Regions from separate parts of the Homo sapiens genome. Here regions 2 and 3 are each linked to region 1. Evidence: promoter capture Hi-C in 16 types of primary human blood cells and fetal thymus (Javierre and others, 2016). All regions are on one chromosome and are shown on one strand. The core of a region is centred on a gene start or on the middle of the fragment in contact, and the rest is flanking DNA. Distances in the headings are between cores, read along the strand shown. Region 1 holds the start of ITM2B (integral membrane protein 2B). Region 2 has its middle 130 kb from the start of CYSLTR2. Region 3 has its middle 110 kb from the start of CYSLTR2.

What was found. Contacts are between HindIII fragments. The CHiCAGO score rates a contact against its expected background, and 5 or more counts as called.
Region 2: a contact is called between a fragment that was not itself captured here and the fragment with the promoter of ITM2B in region 1, in 1 of 17 cell types (neutrophils). The highest score is 6.8, in neutrophils.
Region 3: a fragment that was not itself captured here is called in contact with the fragment with the promoter of ITM2B in region 1 in 2 of 17 cell types (fetal thymus and non-activated CD4 T cells); the score reaches 5.4 in fetal thymus.

Annotation. Positions count from the first base shown.
Region 1 is chr13:48,230,844-48,235,084 of GRCh38, reverse strand. ITM2B (integral membrane protein 2B) reads right to left here and starts at 1,879. Exons shown (of 6, transcript NM_021999.5): 1 at 1,608-1,879. The coding sequence starts at 1,724. RefSeq lists an enhancer at 671-1,368 and silencers at 1,424-1,633, 1,644-2,003. The HindIII fragment of the contact is 15,181 bases long and covers 1-4,241 here.
Region 2 is chr13:48,783,677-48,787,917 of GRCh38, reverse strand. No RefSeq gene overlaps it. Among named protein-coding and RNA genes, the nearest start is that of CYSLTR2, 130 kb to the right of the region's middle. The HindIII fragment of the contact is 7,537 bases long and covers 1-4,241 here.
Region 3 is chr13:48,761,216-48,765,456 of GRCh38, reverse strand. No RefSeq gene overlaps it. Among named protein-coding and RNA genes, the nearest start is that of CYSLTR2, 110 kb to the right of the region's middle. The HindIII fragment of the contact is 245 bases long and covers 1,951-2,195 here.

The DNA.
Region 1 (4,241 bases), core at 630-3,129:
TCTCCTTTCTAAATGGGAGCAGTTATATTTGTTAATAGGATTTTTAAATGTATGTGTGTATATATATATATGTGATAGCATTAAGACTACATATATTTGAGACTGTTGTGACTGGATACTTGACTCTCAATCTATTTTAGGTACAACGAATGTTAGATAAACAAAGAGCTAACATAATAATTTGCTACTGCAATTTTCATCTGTGCATTCCAAACATTTTCTTTAAAGACCAAGATTGTTTGCAATGGCTTCAGGAAAACAATACCAATACGAAAACCAAAACCTTTAATCCTTTTAGGGAATCAGTTCACTGTTCCTATTTCAAGGCAAGGCAAGTCATTTAGAAATCAACCTCTGACGTGTCTGTTTTTATCAGAACATTTCCAGAAAGTAAGATTACCATTATATTCTGAAGATAGATTATATTCAGAATATAATAAATTATAATATGATGTCTAGATTACCATTATATTGTGAATTTTTTACAGTATATTAGTGGCCTGTTTTTCAGCAATAATTTTCATTCGTCCATATAAAAACTCCCATTATTCATACGTGGCACACCAATTTTTTTAAGTTAAAACTAAATTTACCCTACTGATAATAGGTCTTGAAAAATGCTAACAACAACAAAAAATAAGATAAGCAACATAACTTTACAGTTAATTTCTAATTTTTGCAGCCTAAAAAGGGTCTGGGTAAGAGGCTGTGGGCTTTTTTAACTTATGAGACAATTACACTCATATTTAAGTAAATATGATCGTAACCTACTAAAAGTCAACACAGTAACAGCCCCACTTCATGAATTTTCCTAGGATTAAAGGGAGATTTTGTAAAATAAAGGAGAATTTTATTAGGGACCCGGGGGCAAATTTCTCATGTTTAGTTTCACGCAGCAGGAGTCCTCACAAAGACGCTGATACAATTTAAATGCCAACAATTGGTTTTTCACTAACATCCACATAGTCATTACTGGCCTTTACTAGTAATGGTAAGAGACAGCCCAAACCTACTTCGGGCGGACTGTCCCTTCGTCCCCTCTCCAGGTGAAGTTCACCTGCCACTACCGAAGGGCCGTGGAAAAAGGAGGTAAAGAAACGCTTTTAAAATTAAGACGCTTACAGTTGCTGGACTTAGTCCAAGTGCTGTTCAAGCCTAGAAACGAAAGTGGGAAACAACAGAGGTTTAGGCTTGTAATGATGTCAGCCATTTTAGGTACATTATTTATACTGGGAAGGAAGTGCCAAACTCGGTTGTTGTTGTTGTGCCTGTCGCTGCCGGTCCCCAGATCGAACAAGCCAAGTCCTGGCTGCACGCACGCTCCCCGGACTGCACAAACGACCGGGAATTCGGCACAATTAGCCAATCGTTCCCTCTCCAGGCCTCCCAAGCCCCCGACCCCGCGTCAGGCACCGCTTCCAGCACACGCACTTCCTTACAAAGGAGCTGCGGACCCACAGGAAACGGGAGCGCCGGGCTCTCTCGGGGACTTGTCCCCGCGGCGCGAGCCCCGCGCCCGCCACCTCGGGGCGCACTGCCGCTGCAGTCCGCGCAGCCCTCCCCGGCCGGGCCCAGCACCCGCTTCCTCGACCTCCCCGGGCTCGGACCTTGCAGTCCACCGCGACGGCGTCGGGGGGGATGATGAGCGCCTCCTCGCCGCTCTTGGGCTCGTCCTTCTTGGCCTCCTTCTGGGCCAGAGCGGAGTTGAACGTCACCTTCACCATGGCGCGGCCTGGGGCGCCCTCGAAGGGCGGCGGCGGGCTCGGGGCGCGGGCTGCGGGCTCCCGGCTGCGATTGCAGCCTCTACGGCCGGGCTCCGGGAGCGGCTCCGGGCGGCTGAAGAGGTTCGGGAAGCTCCGCGGCGGCAGAGGCGGCTACTGCGGTAGGGATCTCGCAGCCTCCCAGCTCCCGCGCGAGGGCGGAGACTGCTCGCACATCCCCTGGGAGGCGGGGCGGGGGCGGGGGCGGGGCCAGCGGCCGGGGGTGGGGTGCTGCGCGGGACCCTGCCCTCGCCCCGCAGCTGGGCGCCGGATCCCGGCGCGCCTCGGAGAGGGATGGGTGTCCCTCTGGGCCGCCTGGAATTTCCAGTTCTGAATTCGCTCCCAACCAGGTTACCTCCAGGCCGAGTGCTGCAGGTTTGTAGCGAAATCGAGTGAACTTTCCTGAGTTCGCCGGGTACAAGGGACTAACCTTTGGCAGCACCAGACCGCCGCTTCCCTGTACCCTGTCCCCACCGCGAGCCTAAAGGCCATGGAATTTTTGTGCATCCACATCTTCATTTTCTCACTTATTAGGTAACCGACTCAGTGGAGCACAAACATGTTTAAAGCTCTCTGTCCTTGAGATCTGACTTTATCTTTCACGGACCTCACCCAAGGGCGTTTACCTGGCTCAGACCTGCCTGGTCTTCCTTCCCTCTCTCAGGAGGTCAGGGCCTGTTCTGCCTAGTCCCAGACCAATGTGGAGGAAGCTCTTGGCAGATTTGTATTTCAAACATCTCACACTCGTAAAACGAAATGTTCCACTCTTGTGCGTACTTGGAAAAAAACCACATGCACACTTGGCTGATTTGTGACTCAAAGTACTCGATGACGAGTCCCTTTATTTTTCTGCAAAATGAAAAAATAATTAAGGATAACGCAAAATTCTCATGTTTTGAAGACGTTTCATTTACAACTAATGCGAGGTAGAATACTGGCTCCCGTCGTTACTGCGTTCATTACTGTGTCAACAGACGGCCCCCTTGGACAAATGTGTTATCTTGTATCCTTCCACCCCATTCTGTCCTGGTTCATCCAGAGTTGTGGGTGTGCTCTAGAATGTTACAGCTGTGTCAGCTCTGCCTTGGGCCAACCCTGAAAAAAGTGGGTTCAGTCTGAGATCTTTGGGGATTTGGCCCTGCTCAAGGAGGGAGTTGGGTATTTCCATAGAATGTCAGATCATAAGTCCCAGGGAAACAGCCCAAGATCTCCAAATCCTTCTGTTCATGTATTTCAGAAGCATCCTGGGCTGAGATAGAAACCCAGGCCAGACTTTGAGTTTGCTTTGGGTATTCAGAAATTCCTGTCAAAATGAAATCTGCTCAACCAAGAGGAGGATGAGTTAGGTTCCAGTTCTGGTGAGTTTTAACAGTAGCTAACCATACTTGCAGCAACTTATTTAAACTCCTGGGTCGCCCTTGTGCAGGCATCGGCTCTGTGAGGTTGACTCTATGGACTGGACTTTCATAGTATCTAATGTTATCTAATTCCTCAAAGTCAACGACTGCTTCCAGCTCCCTAGTTTAATAGGTTCCCTGAGACATTACAGTTGAAGACTAAGTATTTCTGGAAGCAAGATCTGGAGGATTATAAATAATTATATGTACATCCTTCCTACTTCGTTCTGTGTTAAAATAAGATGGTAGAAAAATACTCAAGGCATTTTGCAGTAGATGATAGAGAAGAATCTGGCTGTCATTATACTCCGGGGGGAAAAAAGGAATTACAGAAGAAAATAAAACAAAATTCTTCGTGAACAACACTACTGAACAGACTAGGAAGCTGAGGCAAAGGATGAACAAATGAGGTTGACAAAACTAGAAATCCTCCCCGCCCCAGGATTTCTATTTTGAAAGACTCATGAATAAAAGACCATTCATTATTTTGTGTACTTGCAGTGAGCAACAGTTTAAAATCAGTTGGCAACCGGTCTGGGAATAATCTCCTGGTTTTTTTTCTCCATTTTATCTCATGTGTCTACAGAACTGTGTAGTGCACAACAGCAGGGATAATAAAGACGCTGGAGCAAGACCAAACATAGCAAATCCAGTCTTGTGATTTAGAAAAGGTTGCCCGTTGACCCTGAAAACTTAGGAGCCAGGGAGGAGGAGAGTCCATGACTCAACAAAAGAAAGTTAAAAACATAGTTATAAGTTACTATTAACTACCAAATGTAAAGGGAGTCTTAGAGGACCTTTGTTTTCCTTTTTGACGTTGAGTTTGAGAGAGCAAGATGAATCTGATTCCAGCTCTGCATATCACCAGCAACCATGTTTGTTTTTATGCTTACCAAAGGAGGGAGGAAAAAATGGAAGTGGGGAACTGAATTCTAAAATATTTTAATAGATTTGCATTATGTGCTTCAACAGGGATTTTTTTTTTCTTTTTAGGTTCTTTACATCTCTATTCTGTCTGTTCTTTCTCAAGGAAACAATTCCTTATTCAGAGAAATTTCTTGTGGTTTTACAGAATGATTGGAAA
Region 2 (4,241 bases), core at 540-3,039, 550 kb before region 1:
TTGTTATCCTCTTGCCTTTTTTCTTTTTTTTTTTTATTTGAGACAGAGTCTCGCTCTGTCGCCCAGGCTGGAGTGCAGTGGCGCGATGTCTGCTCACTGCAAGCTCCCCTCCCGGGTTCACGCCATTCTCCTGCCTCAGCCTCCTGAGTAGCTGGGACTGCAGGCGCCCGCCACCACGCCCGGCTAATTTTTTTGTATTTTTTTTTTTTTTTAGCAGAGTCGGGGTTTCACCGTGTTAGCCAGATGGTCTCCATCTCCTGACCTCGTGATCCGCCCGCCTCGGCCTTCCAAAGTGCTGGGATTACAGGCGTGAGCCACCGCGCCCGGCCTCCTCTTGCTCTTTTGTTATTGGCTATTGTTATCCTTGCTGCTTACTGTAGTGGACATTTACATTTATTTTGGCTGTCTAGGATCTGAAACCCCTTTCTAGGGGTGAGTTGGAGAAATTCATCTATTTGATGAAGGTATCTTTCCCTGAAGAGCTGAAAATACCAGACACCCACTTTTCCAGCCTCCCTTACAGCTAGGGACCAGGTATATGACCTAGGCTCAGCAGACCAGATGCATCTATGACTCATGAGCATCACAGGGAACTCTCTTTGGGGACAGAGCAGCAGTAGTATTTTCAGAAAAATCAAGTTTTTCAGGCAGCAGTGGCATGACGAGTGACAGCATGTCATAGAGAGGGACAGCAGTGTGGAGGGTACAAGTGCCAGCATCTAGTGCTCAGCAGTGTTGCCCATGTGAACTCACAGGGCCCCCTCTGAAGTGTGATTTGGGGTATTGTTCTTGCCTGAGTAGTCCTGAACGTTGTTTTCCAGCCCTCATGATAAGTTGGAGAGTTGCCAAATAACTTTTTTTCTTTTTTCATTTTTTTTTAGTAGTAGAGGCGGGGTTTCACCGTGTTAGTCAGGATGGTCTCAATCTCCTGACCTCGTGATCCGCCCTCCTCGGCCTCCCAAAGTGTTGGGATTACAGGCGTGAGCCACCATGCCCGGCCGCCAAATAACTTTTTAATAAACTATTTCTTTGCTCCAATTAGCTAGAGTTGGATTATGTTGCTTGCAATCAAGAACTCTGAATGGTATGAAAATCAGCGCTAGGAATGGGAGGCTTGTTTCCCATGGTCTGGACACTTACAAAGAGAAACTAACAAGTTCCAATTCCTGATCTTCAGTCCATGCTTTAAGCCAGTAATTTAGAACCGAAAAAAATAAAAAAAATAAAAACAAAAAGAATAAACCAACAAACCAAATCAATGAACAAACAAAAGCCCTCAAAATTTGACACCAAAGGGTTTTTGAATTATAACATGAGTTGAAGTCACAGTTTTGCCAGGTTTCTTGTATGAGAATTCAGGCATTGTTTGGGAAAGACTGGAACCCTGAAATCTGGAATGAAGGAATGTTGGAGCACACTGTAAAAAAGTGAATATGTTCCCCCATATTTAGAGTACACTCCACAGCAAAACCCCACTGGCACTCTCTTGTCAGTGGAAGCAGGCTGTCTTTACAGTCTTATGAGGCTATGGTTATTTTGCTTGAAACTTTAAAATGACCTTATCTAAGCTAATTACCTGGAAAGGGTTGACCAATTCTCCTCAAACCCCATCTTCCCTCCTTCTCATTATTTTTACACTTCAAACCAGGGTCAGAACCCAGCGTGACCGGGAATCCAATTACAAAGTCAAACCCAGAAGGAAAAGACTTCATAACTAAACAATTGCAAAAGGTTACCAGTTTATATCAGCAAATATTTTGAATACTTGTGGAAATAGATGTGGAGGTACTAAACCAAAGAGTAAAGAATATAACTTTAGATCAAGCTGCATTGATCCATGCATTTCATTTGGCAGAAACACTGGGTTCAATCTACCGGTTAAACAACAAACACACAGCCACAAAAAGCCAGACAGAGGAAAGGGGAGAGAGAGAGAGAGAGAGAGAGAGAGAGAGAGAGAGAGAGAGAGAGAGAATCTTCCTTTTCTTATAAGGCCACAGTTCTGCAACATTAGGACTCTATTTTTAGGACCTCACTTAACCTTAATAATCTGCTAAAGACTCTATCTCCAAATAAAATCACACTGGGGGTTAGGGCTTTAACATATGAATTTTGGGGGAACACAATTCAATCCATAGTATTTGGTAAAATTAACAACATAAATTCCATCATTATGGACCTGAAAAGATATACAGTCAGCCCTCTATATCTGTGGATTCTGTATCCATGGATTCAACTGGCCACAAATAAAAAATATTTGAGAAAAAATTGCATCTGTACCAAACATGTACAGATGTTTTTTCTTGTCATTATTCTCTAAACAATACAGTATGACAACTATTTACATGGCACTTATATTGTATTAGGTATCATAAGTAATCTAGAGATGATTTAAAGTATATGGGAGGATGTGTATATGTTGTATGCAAATACTATGCCATTTGCCTATATCAGGGACTTGAACATTCATGGATTTTGGTATCTGTGGGAGGTTCTGGAACCAATCCCTCACAGATACCAAGGGATGACTGTACTTTCACATACCTTTTTGACATTTTGGCCAGTATTAAAAATGAACAGGCTTTGGATAATGACAGAAAGTTATTGTAACCTCAATCAGGGAGTGATTCCAATTGCAATTACTCTTGTAGATATGGTCTCTTTACTGAGACATGTATAGACATCTCATGGCATGTGGTGGTATGTAGCTATTGATCTCTACCCCCAAAAGCAGAAAACACCAGAGGTAATCTGCTTTTACTTAGTGGGAAGACAGCATACCTTCACGGTATTGCCTCTGGGTTACATCAATTTTCTGACCTTGTGCCACAAGTTAGTTTGCAGGGAACTTGATTATCTCATCATCTCATAGAAAAGCATGGTGTCCCATGACATAGATGAGATAGACGTCGGGGGAGCAAAAAGTTGCTGTAACCCAATATGTGTTGCTATGTTGGAGGATGCCAGCTGTTAGGAGATAAAACCTATAAAACATTAGGCTTGATACCTCAGAGAAGTTTTTTGAGGCTAAGTAGTCTGAGGCACATTGGGATAACCTTCAAAGTCAAAGACTAGTTGCTACATCTTGTAACTACTACCAATGGGACAAAAGAAACTACTTGGTGAAAATGTTTGAATTTTATAGTAAACATATACCATGTTTGGGTATTCTGCTTCTACCTATTACTAGTTGAAAGATAAGCACTTTGAGTGGAACCTGGAACAAGAGAATTGTCACTGGTCAAGGATGTAATGGCAGAGTAACAGTGCCCAAAGTATTTGTGACAGATTATGATGTCCATTGAGGCCTGTAGAAAGTTGCAGTGGTGTTTTTACAGGGGATTCCCCTAAGGTTTTGAAGCAAGTAAAGGAGCAATTCACCTTTGAAAAATATCTCTTGGCTTGCTAGTAGGCCCTCTTAGAGACTGACGGTGGGACCCCCAAGTAAGCATCCGGACTGAGTTTTTGGGGTAATTATGCATTATCTGCTCATTCTAGCTGTGAAACAAAGAACAGGAAGCTGACCTAACTTGTGCATGTCATCAGCCCCTTTTTCAGCCATCCTAAATTTTGTTCAGTGGGCTCATAAACATAGTGGTTGGGGGTGGGGGTGCACTCCCATATTCCAGTAAGGATAAAGGGAAGCCATTCCTCATCCTATCTCATAGGTGACCTCATGGAAGTCTGCCAGCTAACTTGAGCTGCAGTCTCAGGTTGAGAGATGCTCCCAAATAATATTTGTGAAATAATCTTGGGTGAGTACTAACCCTGTTGGCCAGAACCAAGGGGCGAGTGGGAAGTGTGCTATCATCATGGGTGTAAAAGCTGGATGCCCCACTTCATGGGTGGACCAGGAGGGCATGGCCTGACAGCTGCAGTTTCTGTCTTTATGGGGAAGGCTTATGGCCTGGGGCAATTTTGAGTTCTGAGTGCAGGCTGCCTGGAACCCAGCTAGCTGCTGTAAGCAGAACACTGTGTGTGAAACCTGCCTTGCCAAGTGCATGGGAGCTGAGTGGGGCTTACTGTACCCTGCTACCCCTTGCTCCTTTTGTGGATATTTTTTGTGGAACAGAGGCAGCTGCGCTCCTCCCTGGAACATTACCCTAGCGGCTAGAGAACTGCTACCTGACCCCCTTTGGGGCTGCAGCTTGTGCCTGTACGTGGAGAGCCAGAATGTTGACTTATCTAACCCAGCCTCAAGCCATCTTTGCCCCTCCACCCCTCCCCGCAGCCCCCCAATA
Region 3 (4,241 bases), core at 824-3,323, 530 kb before region 1:
ATCAATCCTTCTCAAACTCTTCTAAAGAATTGAAGAGGAGGTAACACTTCCAAACTCATTATATTAGGCTAATATTACTCTGACACCGTGGACAAAGATATTAAAAACAAGAAAAGAAAATTACAGACTAACATTCTTGATGAATATCAGTGCAAAAATCCTCAAAGAAATACCGGTAAACTGAATTCAACAGCACATTAAAAGGGTCATGCACCATGACTAAGTGGCACTTATACCTGGAATGCAAGGATGGTTCACCATATAAAAATCAATCAATGAAATATACCACATTAACAAATTGAAGGACAAAATCACATTATCATCTCAATCAATTCAGAAAAAGCATTTGACAAAATTCAATGCCCTTTTATGATAATAACACTGAACAAACTAGGAAGAGAAGAAAACTACCTTCAATATATATAATAAACAATATAATAAAATCCATATATGAAAAGCCCACAGCTAACATTATACTCCCATCCAAGTACTAACCAGGCCCGACCTTTCTTAGCTTCTGAGATCAGATGAGGTCAGGCATGTTCAGGGTGGTATGGCTGTAGACCATCATACTCAATAGGAAAAGACTGAAGGCTTTTCATCTAAGATAAAGAATAAGACAAGGATACCCACTCTCACCATTACTATTCAACATAATACTGGGAGTTCTAGTCAGAGCAATTAGACAAAAATTAAATTAAACTGAAGGCATACAAATTGGAAGGAAGAAGTCACATGATCTATTCACAGATGATATAATTTTATCTGTAGAAATCCCAAAAGATTCCACCAAAAAACTGCTAGGGCTAATAAACGATTTCAAGAAAGTGGCAGGATACAAAGCTGATGCACAAAAATCAGTTGCATTTCTAGATACATTTTTAAATAACTTAAATGAATTATGAAAACAATTCACTTATAATAGCACCAAATAGATGCTTCTTTCATGGGGCTGTCTTTCAACAGGTTAGATAGAGGAGTAGCACCCTGGGGAGGATAACAGAAATGTCAGAGTTCATAAAAGTTCAAGATCTTTTGCATGGCTTCTTTCTCTTGTGTGCTTATACCATTGCAGTTTCAGATTATAGTTGACTTCATAGAGAAAGAAGTTATATAAAAATCCATGTGATTCACAATTCTATCATTTTCCTTTAACCTGATTTTATTTGGAAATTTGGCCAAAGTATTTATTGCCTGAATTATTATTGTGTGTATTGAGAGCTCAGCATGCAGCCCAACCCTTTTCTATGATAGCAAGGGGAGGGTAGAAAGCTAAAACTGACATTTCCAGACTTCCTTGTAGTTAGGCTTCTGGATATGGGTTAGAGTCTGCCAATCAGATATGCTCATGGTAGAATGAGGTTTGAAACTGAACCAGGAAGAAGAGAGGGAGAAAAGGAGGAAGGAAGCATTCATTTTGCATTACAAATAAGGCTCAAATTCCCTTTGCCCACTCCCTGCAATCCTGGTCCATTTCCTACCCCAACAATGAAGGTAACCACTGCTATTAGATTGGTCTGTATCCTTCCATTCTCTTTCCATCAATTTTGCAAATATACATATATGCATATATGCTAATGTTTTAAGATGTGGATTTTGTGTAGTATTTTATTGTATCATACTACCATCTGCTACCTCTACAGCAACATTATGTCTTTGAGAACTTGACAGGTATGCATTATTCCATAGCATGGATACAGTATCACTTTTTAAAGTGATTTTCCTTTGGAAGGACATAAACCTAAAAATTGTTTCCAGTTTTCTGCTATCACAAACAATTTTGTACACATGTGCAAGAATTTTTCTTGAGCTAACACTAAGAAGTAGAATTTTTGAGTTGTAGGGTATGCACATTTAAATTTTCATAGATGCTGACAATGTATTTTAAAAGGGCTGTCACAGTTAACACCCCCACTATTTTTACTGTCTTTTGGTGTTAGTAGAGAAGCTTAAATTTTGGTGTCAGTCTAAGACTGCAAGAGTCATTTACAAGCAGTGGGACTAAGAGAAGTCATTTAACCTCCCTAAACCCCTGCTTCTTTATACTCAAAATGAGGATAAGTGTCTATGTCATGGAGTTCTTGCAGGGAATCGAGCTGAGGCCAGTAATACTTAGCACAGTCCCTGGCATATAGTAAGTGCTGATGAAAGGTGACTCCTACTCCTCCTCACCTTCCTTCTCTAAGATCTAAGCTTATCTATAAATGGGGCTATTCTATTATAATCTTTGCTAGGTTGAGATCACTTTGTTATTATTACTGTAGGATGTTTCTCCTTTTGAGAGGTACTGACACATCCTGGGCTGCATTTCTAAACTGGTCCTCTGAAAGAAACTTACCATGACATGGATTCCTATGTAATGAAACCACTTAATACTTTTAATTTAATGATGACACTGAATATGTGCATGGGCCATACTCAAATTTTTCCTGAAAGAACCACTTCCCTGTGCACTTAAGGATACTTACACTCTTCAAAAGTTTTGCATATGAGAGACTAAAATTAAGTTAATATCTTCAGAATGGCAATTTCCAAATGAAGTGATTTGTGCTCGTTAGCATGTTCTATTTAAGGCAAATGAATATATTGTTCTTTTTTACAGGAAGCTTTTAAGGTAACTCAGCTTACCGTGGAGTGGAGAGAGAATGTGATTGGGAGTCAAAGAGATCCAGGTTTGACTTTCAGCCCTGTCTCTTATTACCTAAGGGTCTTATTAAGATCCTTACTACTTCTGAGTCCCAATAATCATATTTATATTTATCTTGGAAGGTTGTTGAGAAGATTTAATGAGATAATATGTGCAAGTGCTGGACACATGGGGCATCCTTAAGAAATGCTGATTCCTGTCTATCCCCCCAGTGTTATTTACATAGGCTTCTGAATTCACCATCTATTGATTGAGTACAAGCTATGTGTCATCAGGAACTTCTATAGGCTGTGAGAGAGGGACAAATAAGAGAGACAGTCTCACCTTAAGGGGTTTTTAGTCTAGTGAGAAAGCTAGGCCATGGCTAAGTGACCTCAAGAGAACAATAAACACAATAACATTATGTCCAGGGCTCTCATCTCCCGATATGAGAAGTCAGAGGAACCTTCACAGAAGTATCTCTTGAGCTGGACCTTGAAGGATGAGGATGAGTTCACCAGGCAGGGAAGAAGAGCAGGTGGAAAAGCAAAGATAGAAAGAGCTGGGAGTGTTCTAACACTGGTGAGCATTAATCTTTCATCTCTAAAATATTTGGCCCGACATTCTTACAGTCTCTCCTGTGGCTGACATCTCCTGTGGTTCAAATGGACATTGGACTCACTAAAGAAGGGCACTGGACTCACTAAAGAAATCAAGAATTATTAATGTTCATTGCAGACTGGAACTTGGAACGCTGTAAATAACCCCAGCTCTACAAATCTGTCTGGAAAATGCTTAGTTCATGTTTGCTCTTTGTTACTTTTTCAAGGGAGTACTGAGGAAATCACAATTGTGGTTTCTGGCTGGAAATAGGTCCTATCTGTCACTATTGATCCTAAACAATTTGTCTCTCTGGAATCAGATTAAAATAGGTCCTATCTGTCACTATTGACCCTAAACGATTTGTCTCTCCGGAATCAGATTATTTAACCTCATTTCTAAAAGTTGTACTCAGGTGCTGGGTTAGGTGGATACTGCTAATAACAGCAGATGATCAATGATTCTTCCAGCAAACAGAGGAGTAAGTCACCTAGTGGGCAGAAAAGCCTGTTCCTCTGTGCCCATTTAATAAAAAAAATTATCCAGAGCACAAATTAATTTGTCATTAAAAGTGGCCATTCTCAGATATAGTTCTTACATCTTTTGTACTATTTTATAAACTATAGGCATCTGCCAGCAGCTGCTGGAACAGGAAAGTTTATATCCAGGCAGAGGGAAAAAAACATGGTAGAAAATGAGCAGGCTGAAACCAATATGAAGAAATGCCAGAAGAAAAAATGCACAATCAACTTTTGTCGTGTATTTTAAAATAAACTCTCTGGTCCAGTTGTAGCCGAGAATGACTCATCCCATCCACAGAAGCACCAAAGGGAATGGGGCAGGAAGGATGAACAGAAACAAGATTCTGTTTTACATAATTCTTATTTTCATGCAAAAAGGTATTCAAATAGCACATGAAATTGGCCAGTAATGTACCTCACTATTTACCTCACTATTTACAATGTCAGACAAAATGCAGGAGAGTTTGCTAGATAAGAATTATGACAGCCAGTCA